3 separate regions of the Homo sapiens genome follow, and all the other regions are linked to region 1. Evidence: promoter capture Hi-C in human tissues and cell types (Jung and others, 2019). All regions are on one chromosome and are shown on one strand. Each heading gives the region's core, a stretch centred on a gene start or on the middle of the fragment in contact. The rest is flanking DNA. Distances are from core to core; before and after follow the strand shown. Region 1 holds the start of PELI3 (pellino E3 ubiquitin protein ligase family member 3). Region 2 overlaps KDM2A (lysine demethylase 2A). Region 3 has its middle 11 kb from the start of KDM2A.

Region 1 (3,827 bases), core at 690-3,189:
CCTTACTTGGGCAATCCTGGTGTCGGGCCCACCTCAGCCTCCCTGAGGCCTGATGGTCTGGCTGTGCCACCATGCAGCTCCAATCCCAGTACTGCCCCAGGAGAAATCCCTGCCTCCTCCTCCAGTGAGTCTTGGTGATCCCTCTCAGACCTTCCTCCATGCAGTCCAGTGTCAGGTGGAAGCACTGGGGCTCCTGTGAAGCATCAGCTCCACATCTGCCTGGCTTGTGACCTGGGGCAAGTTTCTTCTTCTGCCTGAGCCTCAGCTTCCTGGTGTGTAAATTGGGGATTATAACAGGGATTCAGTATATATTCACTGAGGACCTGCTCTGGCAGGCAATGCATTAAAAGCTGGGGGTACACAAGGGAGTGAGGCTGTCCCAGGGTCCCCGTGCACACCCAGCACAATGGACGCCTCTGGTGGCATCAGTGAGGGCAGCTATCCTGTGTCACAGGGTTTGTGTGACCTGCAGCCAGCAGCCCAGCGGTCTGGTGGTGTCCTGCTTGGTGGAAGTCTCGCAGGGAGATTCTCTGTGACTAACGAGTGTCTTTTCCCCTAAAGGATGTGCCGTCGGCTGCTTTCTTGTTTCATCTAGCCGCTGGGCCCCAGAACAGTTGGCAAAGCAGTTGGTATCTTTGGCTATTTTTAGGTGGAGGAGTTAGCGGGGTGGATATAGTAGGGCCCCAGGGGAGTCTGGTAGATGGGGAACTTCAGGTGCAACAAGTTTGTGGGGGTGGGAGTGGCAGCGGCTCCCTCTCAGGAATGTTTAGGCAAACTAAACATGCATCCTTCATAATGGAAGTCAAAAGCCACCTCCTCTGTGCAGTCTTCCTTGATTTTCTCATTAAACACCCCCACCGCCCCCCACAAGACCAAAGACTTGATCTGGAACTATAATCCAGCCTTTATAGTTCCAGACCAAGAGTACTGAGCAATAGGGACCTTACCTGATGCAGACAAGGTTTCTCTTCTGCACCTCTGAGGCTCCATCCCTAGTCAGAACGACAAGGTACGAAGTTAGGAGTTGAGACTGAAGCCACTCATACAGCTGAGATTCTCTCTTGGCCCGTTTCTAGCAAACTACAACAAGCAAGTCACTTTTGTAAATCTATTTCCTCATCTGTAAAATGGGCAACTATCGTGCCTGCCTCCCAGGATTAAAGTAAAGGGTTTAATTTGCTCAAAGCACAGCGCACAGCGCCTAACGTAGACTGATAGATCTCTCGCAAGCCCCAGGCCCAGAAGGGGCGGTGCTCCCCCAAAACTCTCTTTCCTTTGCAGCACAGCGGGGGGTGTGTGCATCCTGGCGGAGGGGAGGGGACTGAGGGGAGGGGAATGGGGGGTGCCCGAGCTGGGCTGGAAGACAGGTCTGCGACTCTGGTCAACTGCAGCTGCTTTCCCCGGCCTCCACCGCTGCCGCACACCCCCTTTGCCTTTAGCATTTTCCTCCTCTCCTCTAATTGCGTGGCGTCCCCAGATGGTAGGCGGGGTGTCGGAGCTGGGGGTGCGTAGTCCCGGGCCTAAGGCTAGGGAAGGGGCCTCCAGCGCCGTGTGAGGGCCCTGACCGACAGTGGGGAGGGGCGCCCATGTCTCTGGGAGAACCCCGGAGTCCCCGGAAATGGAGGCGGAGTTTGGGGAGTCTGAAATGGGGGAGGGGTCGTGTAGACTACGGGGGAGTCCTGAGCCGGCTAGGAGGGGCAAGGGAGTCCCTCAGACGGAGTGGAGAGCGGGGCTTCCCTGGTCAGAGGGCGGTACCAGGGGAAGGGCGTGGTCTCCTGCGAAGGGGCGGAGCTCCGCCTACGAAGGCTGAGCATCGCCGCAAGAGGCGGAGTCTGGAGCGAGGCGGAGCTCTCCTAGGGGCGGGGAAAATGGGGCGGGGCCTCCGGACAGGGGGCGGAGCGTGGCTGTTCGCGCTCATCCCCCTCCCCCGGCCCTGGGTGTCCCCGTGACGAGGCAGCGCGGAGCCGCCGCGGGCCGGGCCCATCCCGCCGCAGCGGCCCGGGGCCGAGCAGGGGCTAGGCGGGGAGGGAGCGGCGCCCAGCGGGGCCCGGAGCGTGGCCAGGTGAGGCCGCCGGGGCGGAGGGGGCGGGGGCTGCGCCAGGCGGGCCCCGGCGGGCGCGGGGGGCGTGTTTGCGTGTCTGGGGGTGGTGGAGGGAGTGGGTCCGAGGGCGGGCGCCGGTGGCTGCTGCGCGCCCGCGCGTCCCTGCGGTCGCGGGTGCGGGTGGTCTCTGCGCCGTCCGGGCCCGGGGCGTGCGGGGCCGTGCACGCGCGCGTGTTGTGCGGAGGGGCCGCCGGGTGTGGACCTGCGTAGGTGCTGGGCCGCGGTTCCCGTTCTGCCCGCCCGGGGCGCAGGGCGCGGGCCTGCCCCGGCGCGGTCCCTCTGGCGCGGGGATGTTTTCCAAACGGGCTGCCTGCGGGAGACGGCTGTGCTGCAGCCCGAGCTCGAGGGGGGAGCGCCGCCTCCGCAGGCCTCCTGAGACCCGGGCGGCTGGGGACGCAGACAGACACCTGAGGGAGGGAAGAGCGCGCACCCAGGAGGAGTCTATTGGCCTACCCGCAGGGGGAGGCCGAGATGGGGAGACTGAGGCAGATGGTGAGGCGGAGGCGGGCAGACAGGCAGAGATGGGGAATGGGGGGAGAGAGACGGCAAAAAGGACAGCGGCTGGGAGGACAGAGAGTCATTGAGAAAGCAGATGGACAGACAGAGGCCTAGACCTCAAAGGGGCAAGAAAGATTCAGATGGACAGGTAGATTCAAAGAACCTGTCAGAGAGGCTAAATCAGAGGTCCAGAGGCTAAGAGCTATAAGCAGGAACTGAGTCTGAGATGAGGGGTAACGGCCCCCAACTCATTGGGTGCCCCGCTTTGAAGCACATCCCAGACTGGGATCTTGGCCAAAAAGCAGCCTCTGGCCACCCCAAGTTGGTCCATCTCTTTGGCACCACTGAATATCCTGACTCTCTTCACTGTGCCACCCCTCCCTGGTATCCCAGCAACCTCGGGCAGTTTAGAGGAGGCAGAGGGGAAGTGGTTGCCATAGCAGTAGAGGCGGTGAAAGGTCACCCTTGCCTTAGCCTAGGCGGCCCTGCAGCAGGCTGCAGCTGGAATTGAGCCGGGCTGGGGTGGGAACCTACAAAGCTCTTTTCTCTCCCACTCTGCCCAGAATGGTGCTGGAAGGAAACCCTGAAGTGGGGTCCCCCCGAACCTCAGACCTCCAGCACCGGGGGAACAAGGGCTCTTGCGTTCTCTCCTCTCCCGGTGAAGATGCGCAGCCAGGCGAGGAGCCCATCAAGTATGGTGAACTCATCGTCCTGGGGTGAGCATCCCTGGCCTAGAAGGGGTGAAGCACCAGACACCCACCCAACGCAGCCAGAACAAGGGCCCGACCCCTCCTCCCCCCACATAGGGCCTTCAGCTGTTTGTCCCTCCTCACCTTCCTAGCTGAAAGACAAAATTGACCAAACCCACCTCAATTCATAATTATTATTTTATCTTCCCATTTTTCACAAAGTACTGTGACAACTCTAACCACCCAACTTCCTGATCAGATGAGAAAAATGTTAACACCAGCTGCCTTTCCTAAAGCACCTAGTGTGTGTGGTGTGGGGTGAAGAACTCTGGTTCTCCAGCAAAACTGCTTGGTTCAAATCCTGCCTCTGCAAGTTGCTGAACTTCCCTGTGCCTCTGTTTCCCCTGTTTTGCAAATGGGGATGATAATAATCCCTTCCTCAGAGGGTTGTTGGAAGAAATGAATGAGGTGATTTCTGTAAAGTACATAGAACAGCGCCTAGCACATATCGAGTGTTCTGGGAGGCAGGCCTGTGCCAA
Region 2 (3,827 bases), core at 843-3,342, 770 kb after region 1:
GCTAATTTTTTTAATGTAGAGATGGGGTCTCACTATGTTGCCCAGGCTAAAACTATTTTTTAAACATACATGCTTCTTAGTGTCTTCTCTTTTAAAAGGTAATGAAATAATAATCCCAGATTCAAGCTTTAACTTGAAACTGACTTTACAACCACTTTGATAAGTAACTGATTTCTAGTACACAGTTCAAAGACTAGGTCCTACCCAAACTTTAAAAAATCCAATTGACTATTACCTAGGTGTCCTCCTAGGTCAGGATCCTGTTTCTACCTGTTAACTGTGATTTTGAACAGTGGACAAATGGGTTGGAATAAAGATAGACCATTTTTTTAAATGTGGTAATTTTGTCATTTATAGCCTCAAGGCCCCTATCATGCCACCTATTTCTCTTGCTGATCACATGGCAGAGTGAAATGTTCTTACTGCATTTTTTCTTCATATTGGTAGATTTGGAGTTAAATGGGTTGGAGTCTGGGAATGGGGATGAGGAAGCAGTGGATCGAGAACCCCGACGCTTGAGCAGCAGGCGTTCTGTCCTCACTAGCCCTGTAGCGAATGGAGTCAACCTGGATTATGATGGACTGGGCAAAACCTGCCGAAGTCTTCCAAGTCTGAAGAAAACTTTGGCTGGGGACTCATCTTCTGACTGTAGCCGGGGCTCCCACAATGGACAAGTGTGGGATCCCCAGTGTGCTCCCCGAAAGGACAGGCAAGTGCATCTGACCCATTTTGAGCTTGAAGGCCTTCGCTGCCTTGTAGATAAGTTGGAGTCTCTGCCACTGCACAAGAAATGTGTCCCCACAGGGATAGAAGATGAAGATGCTCTCATTGCTGATGTAAAGGTAAGGGTTTGATGTGTTACATGACAGCTACTGATCCAGCTATGGCAGTCAGCTTCCAGATTCAGAGGGAGAAAATATAGGAATTTTGGGTGATCTCTGGTTCAGTCAGAGAGAAGTTAATATGCATGTGTGTTTGTTATTGCTGCTCAGTGTTTTCATTACTAGAATGAGGTTATGTCCCTGTTTTGAAAATACTAACATTTATGTGTTCATTGAAGACTTATAAATTTAGTCTTAAACATAGGTTTCAGGCTGACCCCAAAAATAAAGTGACCCAAAGAAAATATTTATATAAGAAATGTTACATTAAACTTAAGTTACCTTGAGATAAAACTCAGGACAAAAGTGACTGATAGGAGTCTCATCCTAAGCAGATTGAGAGAAATGAAATTGTTCTATGCTGGGTTAACGTTGAGTAGCTTTAGCCTCTTTAGATTCAAATTTATCTAGCATCAAGACTTAAATACATTGGGAAAAGCATCATTTTAAAATAATTCATCCCATTGCTTTATCAAGTTTTATGTTTATTTATTTTTTAATTATACTTTAAGTTCTAGGGTACATGTGCACAACGTGCAGGTTTATTACATAGACATACATGTGCCATGTCAGTTTGCTGCACCCATTGACTCGTCATTTATGTTAGGTATTTCTCCTAATGCTATCCCTCCTCCAGCTCCCCTTCATATTGTATATTTTTCTTAAGGAATCCAGACTTGAGCTTTTTTTTTTTTTTTTAATTTTAATTAATTAATTAATTTATTTGAGACGGAGTCTCACTCTGTCGCTCAGGTTGGAGTGCAATGGCAAGATCTCGGCTCACTGCAACCTCCACCTCCCGGGTTCAAGCAGTTCTCGTGCCTCAGCCTCCTGAGTAGCTGAGATTACAGACACGTGCCACCATGCCTGGCTAATTTTTTTATATTTTTGATAGAGATGGGGTTTCACCATGTTGGCCAGGCTGGTCTCGAACTCTTGACCTCAGGTGATCTGCCTGCCTCAGCCTCCCAAAGTGCTGGGATTACGGGCATGAGCCTCCACACCCAACCTTGAGCTATCTAAACTGGAGGAAATTATTTTAAGTCTTTCCTCCTAAGTAACAATTAATGTGAAGACCAAGAATTGTAAAGCTGGAAATAGCAATTTTATTTTTAAATCAGTGTTTGGAACAATGGGTATGTATATTAGAAAGCTAATCTACAAGTTGTAATGTTATTTTGAAAACCTCACATAGATTATTTTAAGCTACTTTTAAGCCATTTTATAAATTTAGGGGGGCCAGGCACAGTGGCTCACACCTGTAATCCTAGCACTTTGAGAGGCCAAGGTGGGAGGATCACCTGAGGTCAGGAGTTCGAGACCAGCCTGGCCAACATGGTGAAACCCCATCTCTACTAAAAATACAAAAAAAGGCTCAGTGCGATGTCTCATGCCTGTAATCCCAGCACTTTGGGAGGCCGAGGCAGGTAGATCACGAGGTCAGGAGTTCAAGATCAGCCTGGCCAAGATGGTAAAACCCCGTCTCTACTAAAAATACAAAAATTAGCTGGGTGTGGTGGCAGACACCTGTAATCCCAGCTACTCAGGAGGCTGAGGCAGGAGAATCCCTTGAACCTGGGAGGCAAAGGTTGCAGTGAGCCGAGATTGCGCCATTGCACTCCAGCCTGGGTGATGGAAGTGAAACCCTGTCTCAACAACAACAACAACAAATCCATTGGAGTAGTTTAACTAAAGTAGCTAAATAAGGAGATTTGAGGTGAAAGGGTGGTACAATGGTATACCAAAGGAAAAAGTAGAAAGATTTGGGTTAAATATTAAGCAGAGTCAGCAAGAAGAGAGGGGAGTTAAGAAGAGACATCTAAAGAGGAGGCTTAGCATTATGAAAAGTGTCCGGAGATAGCTTGCTTGTGTTTATCAGGGACCACTGAAAAACGTGACTGCCATCACTGGCTAAGATATAGTGGCAGAGGCCAGAGCATGAGGAACAAGTAGCCAGTGAGATGACTACACAGGCCGACAGTGTTTGAATTCTCCCTCCAGAGACTTGTCCACAGCTTCTCGTTTACCCAAAACCACAGTCAAAATGTAGCTGACGTCAGAAGACAACAGATTTAGATTCCAGCTCTGCAGGTGTAGTTTCACTTAAGATCAAATAGATTAATTATTCCTATATTTGATCAGTTATGCTAAATCTCAGAAAAGATATAGCAAGCTTAGAGCTTGAATACCTTGAGAATCTAAGCATCACTCAAAAGAAAAAAGCATTAGATTGGGTAGCTGCTGAATCACTGCACAGCTGGGGACTTTCAAGTGCTAGAAAACTTGGTGCTTATAGCACTGATGGCTATACTTCAGTGGGGGACAAAGCTAGTACAGTTTACCCTTCCTGCAGAGAAAGGAATTGTTTGCTGTTGTAACCTATCTGGCTTTCAGGAATAATTAGTAGAAGAGATGAGGGGAAAAGTGGTAGATGAGATATTCATAATATTCCAAGGAAAAATAGTGCATTTCAGTGCTGTGATAAAAGGGCTTTTTTTAGGTTCTAAGGCGTTGAAGAACAAGTCATAGAATATAGAGTTGGAAGAGGATTAAGTGAAAAAATAGGACATTAAAAAGTACTGACTTGGGCTGAGCCCAGTGGCTCACACCTCTTGTCCTAGTGCTTTAGGCGGCAGACGCAGGCAGATCTCTTGAGACCAGCCTGGGCAACGTGGCGAAACCTCACCTCCACAAAAATACAAAATTATCCAGGTGTGGTGGTGTGTGTTTGTGATCCCAGCTACGTGGAAGGCTGAAGTGGGAGGATCACTTGAGCTGGGCAAGTTGAGGCTTCACTGAGCTGTGATCTCACCACTGCACTCCAGTCTGGGCAAAAGAGTGAGACCTTGTCTCAAAAAGAAAGTAGGCCGGGCATGGTGGCTCATGCCTGTAGTCCCAGCACTTTGGGAAGCTGAGGCGGGCGGATCATGAGGTCAGGAGATCAAG
Region 3 (3,827 bases), core at 870-3,369, 640 kb after region 1:
GGACTAGCTATCAGAAGACATGGTTTATAGTTCTAATTTCATCACGAAACTAGCTGCATGACCTTGGCCACGCTGCTTAACATCTTTGGGCCTCAGACTGCCAGTTTTTAAATGAGCAAGTAGGATTAAATGACCTCTGCCCTCGATGCTTGCTCTAAGATTCTGTGATTCAGAGTTATCCCCTTAATAGACGAGGACCTCTCAGACCCTAAATGGAAGAAGTTAGTGTGGCACTGAGTACACACACCAGGAAGTCTTGGACGATGGAGAGTGTTGGTGCTGCTCTTGAAGCTGTGCAGGAACCACCTTCATTTTTCCCTCTGCCAGTTCTGTCATGCTGCTGTCTCTTTGGTTAATATGCACGGTGCTGTTTTTTGTTTTTGTTTTTTGTTTCTCTCTCCAATTAAACTGTAAGCTTCTTGAGGATAGGCTCCAAGTCTTATGTTTTAAATCTTGAGGCCCTTTAAGTTAAATTAGAACCTGGCACGTGTTCTGTGGTTGACAATAATGGTCATATGGAGATCTAATCAAATCAAATGTTAGACAGTGGATGGCAGGTTTAATCAGAAATACACCAGAGAAGGGTAGGTATAGTGGCTTACACCTGTAATCCCAGCACTTTGGGAGTCTGAGGAGGGCAGATCACTTGAGTCAGGAGTTTGAGACTCACCTGGCCAACACAGTGAAACCGTGTCTCTACTGAAAATACGAAAATTACCCAGGTGTGGTGGTGGGCGCCTGTAATCCCAGCTACTTGGGAGGCTGAGGCAGGAGAATCACTTAAACCTGGGAGGTGGAGGTTGCAGTGAGCCGAGATCGCGCCACTGCACTCCAGCCTGGGTGACAAAACAAGACTCCATCTCAAAAACAAGAGGCCAGGCGCAGTGGCTCACGACCGTAATACCAGGACTTTGGGAGGCCTAGGTGGGCGGATCACCTAGGTCAGGAGTTCGAAACCAGCCTGGTTAACATGGTGAAACCCCATCTCTACTAAAAGTACAAAATTAGCCAGGCACAGTGGTGTGTGCCTGTAATCCCAGCTACTCGGGAGGCTGAAGCAGGAGAATCGCTTGAACCCAGGAGGCAGAGGTTGCAGTGAGCCAAGATCGCGCCACTGCACTCCACCTTGGGTAACAAGGGCGAAACTGTCACACACACACACACACACATACACACACACACACAAGAAGATAAAAGAAAAGAAATACACCAGAGAACAAAGAGAAAGCAGTGAAAATTATGGGCATTGTCCTATCAAAAGCATCACAATTATATGCCTATGCCTGTGTATTAAGGAGCAACTTAAATACACATGGAGGCCAGGCATAGTGGCTCATGCCTGTAATCCTAGCACTTTGGGAAGTTGAGGTGGGTGGATCACCTAAGGTCAAGAGTTCCAGGCCAGGCTGGCCAACAAGGTAAAACCCTATCTTTACTAAAAATATAAAAATTAGCTGGGCATGGTGGTGTGCACCTGTAATCCCAGCTACTCTGGAGGCTATGGCAGGAGACTTGCTTGAACCCAGGAGGTGGAGGTTGCAGTGAGCTGATATGATATCGCGCCACTGCACTCCAGCCTGGGCGACAGAGTGCGTAAGGCTCTGTCTCAAAGAAAAAAAAAAAAAAAAAGAAAGAAATATGGTCCCATCAAGAGGCACAATGTGGTTTCAGAAAAAGGAAGCCACTGAGGATTCCACATTATGTTATGGCAAGTCAGAATTGCGTATTCCATTTGTCCACTTTTCTGAATTCATTGACAAGAAAAATGCATAAAATACATTATAGGATATATTACATGAGTAGTAAATAGTAAAATGAAATAGAAAATACTTCCGGTGGTGGGCATGGTAGTTCATGCCTGTAATCCCAGCACTTTGGGAGTTTGAGACCAGCCTGGGCAACATAGTGACACCACATCTCTACAAAAAATACAAAATTGGCTGGGTGTGGTGGCTCACGCCTGTAATCCCAGCACTTTGGGAGGCTGAGGCGGGCGGATCACTTGAGGTCAGGAGTTCGAAATCAGCCTGGGCAACATGGTGAAACTCTGTCTCTACTAAAAATACAAAAAAAATTAGCCAGGCTTGGTGGTGCATGCCTGTAATCCCAGCTACTTGAGAGGCTGAGGCAGAACAATTGCTTGAACTCAGGAGGCGGAAGTTTCAGTGAGCAGAGATTGTGCCATTGCTGCTTTCCACCTGAGTGATAGAGCAAGACTCCATCTCAAAAAAAAAAAAAAAAAATTAGCTGGGCATGGTGGTGTGTACCTGTAGTCCCAGCTACTGGGAAGGCTGAGGTGGGAGGATGGCTTAAGACCAGGAGGCAGAGGTTTCGGTGAGCTGAGATTGTGCCACTGCACTCCAGCCTGGACAACAGAGTGACACTCTGTCTCCAAAACAAACAAAAAAAAGAAAATAAAATACTGAATACCGCTGGGCATGGTGGCTCACCCCTGTAATCTCAGCACTTTGGGAGGATGAGGTGTGGAAGTCAGGTGGCCTCACTTGAGGTCAGGGGTTTTGAGATCGGCTTGGGACAACACAGGGACTCGAGCCCAGGAGGTTGAGGCTGCAGTGAGCTATGATCGTGCCAGTGCATTCCAGCCTGCCTGGGTGACAGAAGGAAAGACCTTGTCAAAAAAAAAAAAAAAAGGAAAGAAATGTAAAATAGTAAGACATATTATAGAAACTACCAACATTTACGCAAAGCATAAACCTTCACCCATGGAAACATATAAACTAAAAATATATCGGGCCAGGCACAGTGACTCATTTCTGTAAACCCAAGCCAGCCTTTGGAAGGCTGAGGCAGGAGGATCCCATGAGGCCAGGAGTTTGAGACTAGTCTGGGCAACATAGTGGGACCCCCATCTCTACAAAAAATTTAAAAATTAGCTAGGGGGCCGGGCGCAGTGGCTCACGCCTGTAGTCCCAGCCCTTTGGGTGGCCAAGGTGGGCGGATCACTTGAGGTTAAGAGATTGAGACCATCCTGGCCAACATGGTGAAATCCTGTCTCTACTGAAAATACAAAAATTAGCCAGGTGTGGTGGCGCACGCCTATAAACCCAGCTACTCAGGAGGCCGAGGCAGGAGAACCTCGTGAACCCCCAGGAAGCCCCAGGAAGCAGAGGCTGCAGTGAGCTGAGATTGCACTTCCGCACTCCAGCCTGGGTGATAGAGTGAGACTCCATCCCAAAAAATAAGAATTATAATAATAAAAAAATAAAATTTAAAAAAATGAAATAAATAGACAGATGGGTAAATCCTGTCATCAGCTCCAGTAATAAAGGAATGAGGTATAGATGTAGGGTCTCCCACATTTCTTCCACCAATAACATTATGCAGGAATAGAAAGTTAATGATATGAAGCTCACCAATAGGAAGATTATTTGATCAACAGTAAAAGTAGATCTAGAAATTATGACCAAATCGAACATGAACTCTAAGCTGTGGCAAATCAAGTATAATTGCAAAAAAAAAAAAAACCATGAAAATCTTACCTTAAACTCAGTCAATATTTTCTTGCAGTCCCCCAGAGAGTGTGAAAATAGATTTAGCCAGAAAGAAGGTAAAGACCAAATACATTTTCAGAGTTTAAATATTTAGCAAGCATTTTTTGGGGGAAAAAACAATATTGTCATTTTAAAGTTACACTGTTTAAATATAATGTACATTATAATTAAAGAGATATAATGAAAAATAATTGATTGGAGATATTAAGCTTATAATATCACATCAAAAGCTGCACTCCTGTCTGGGCGCGGTGGCTCATGCCTGTAATCCCAGCACTTTCGGAGGCCAAGGTGGGCAGAACACTTGAGGTCAGG

What was found. Contacts are between HindIII fragments. The study calls those that stand out against the background at their distance.
Region 2: a fragment that was not itself captured here is called in contact with the fragment with the promoter of PELI3 in region 1 in 1 of the 25 tissues and cell types used here (hippocampus).
Region 3: a contact is called between a fragment that was not itself captured here and the fragment with the promoter of PELI3 in region 1, in 1 of the 25 tissues and cell types used here (dorsolateral prefrontal cortex).

What each region holds. Positions count from the first base shown.
Region 1 is chr11:66,464,966-66,468,792 of GRCh38, forward strand. PELI3 (pellino E3 ubiquitin protein ligase family member 3) reads left to right here and starts at 1,940. Exons shown (of 8, transcript NM_145065.3): 1 at 1,940-2,062; 2 at 3,163-3,315. The coding sequence starts at 3,164. RefSeq lists enhancers at 1-406, 407-906 and silencers at 1,858-2,067, 2,078-2,427. The HindIII fragment of the contact is 25,810 bases long and covers 1-3,827 here.
Region 2 is chr11:67,231,119-67,234,945 of GRCh38, forward strand. KDM2A (lysine demethylase 2A) reads left to right here. Exons shown (of 21, transcript NM_012308.3): 12 at 448-842. Among named protein-coding and RNA genes, the nearest start is that of GRK2, 33 kb to the right of the region's middle. The HindIII fragment of the contact is 4,272 bases long and covers 1-3,827 here.
Region 3 is chr11:67,106,331-67,110,157 of GRCh38, forward strand. No RefSeq gene overlaps it. Among named protein-coding and RNA genes, the nearest start is that of KDM2A, 11 kb to the right of the region's middle. The HindIII fragment of the contact is 4,720 bases long and covers 1-3,827 here.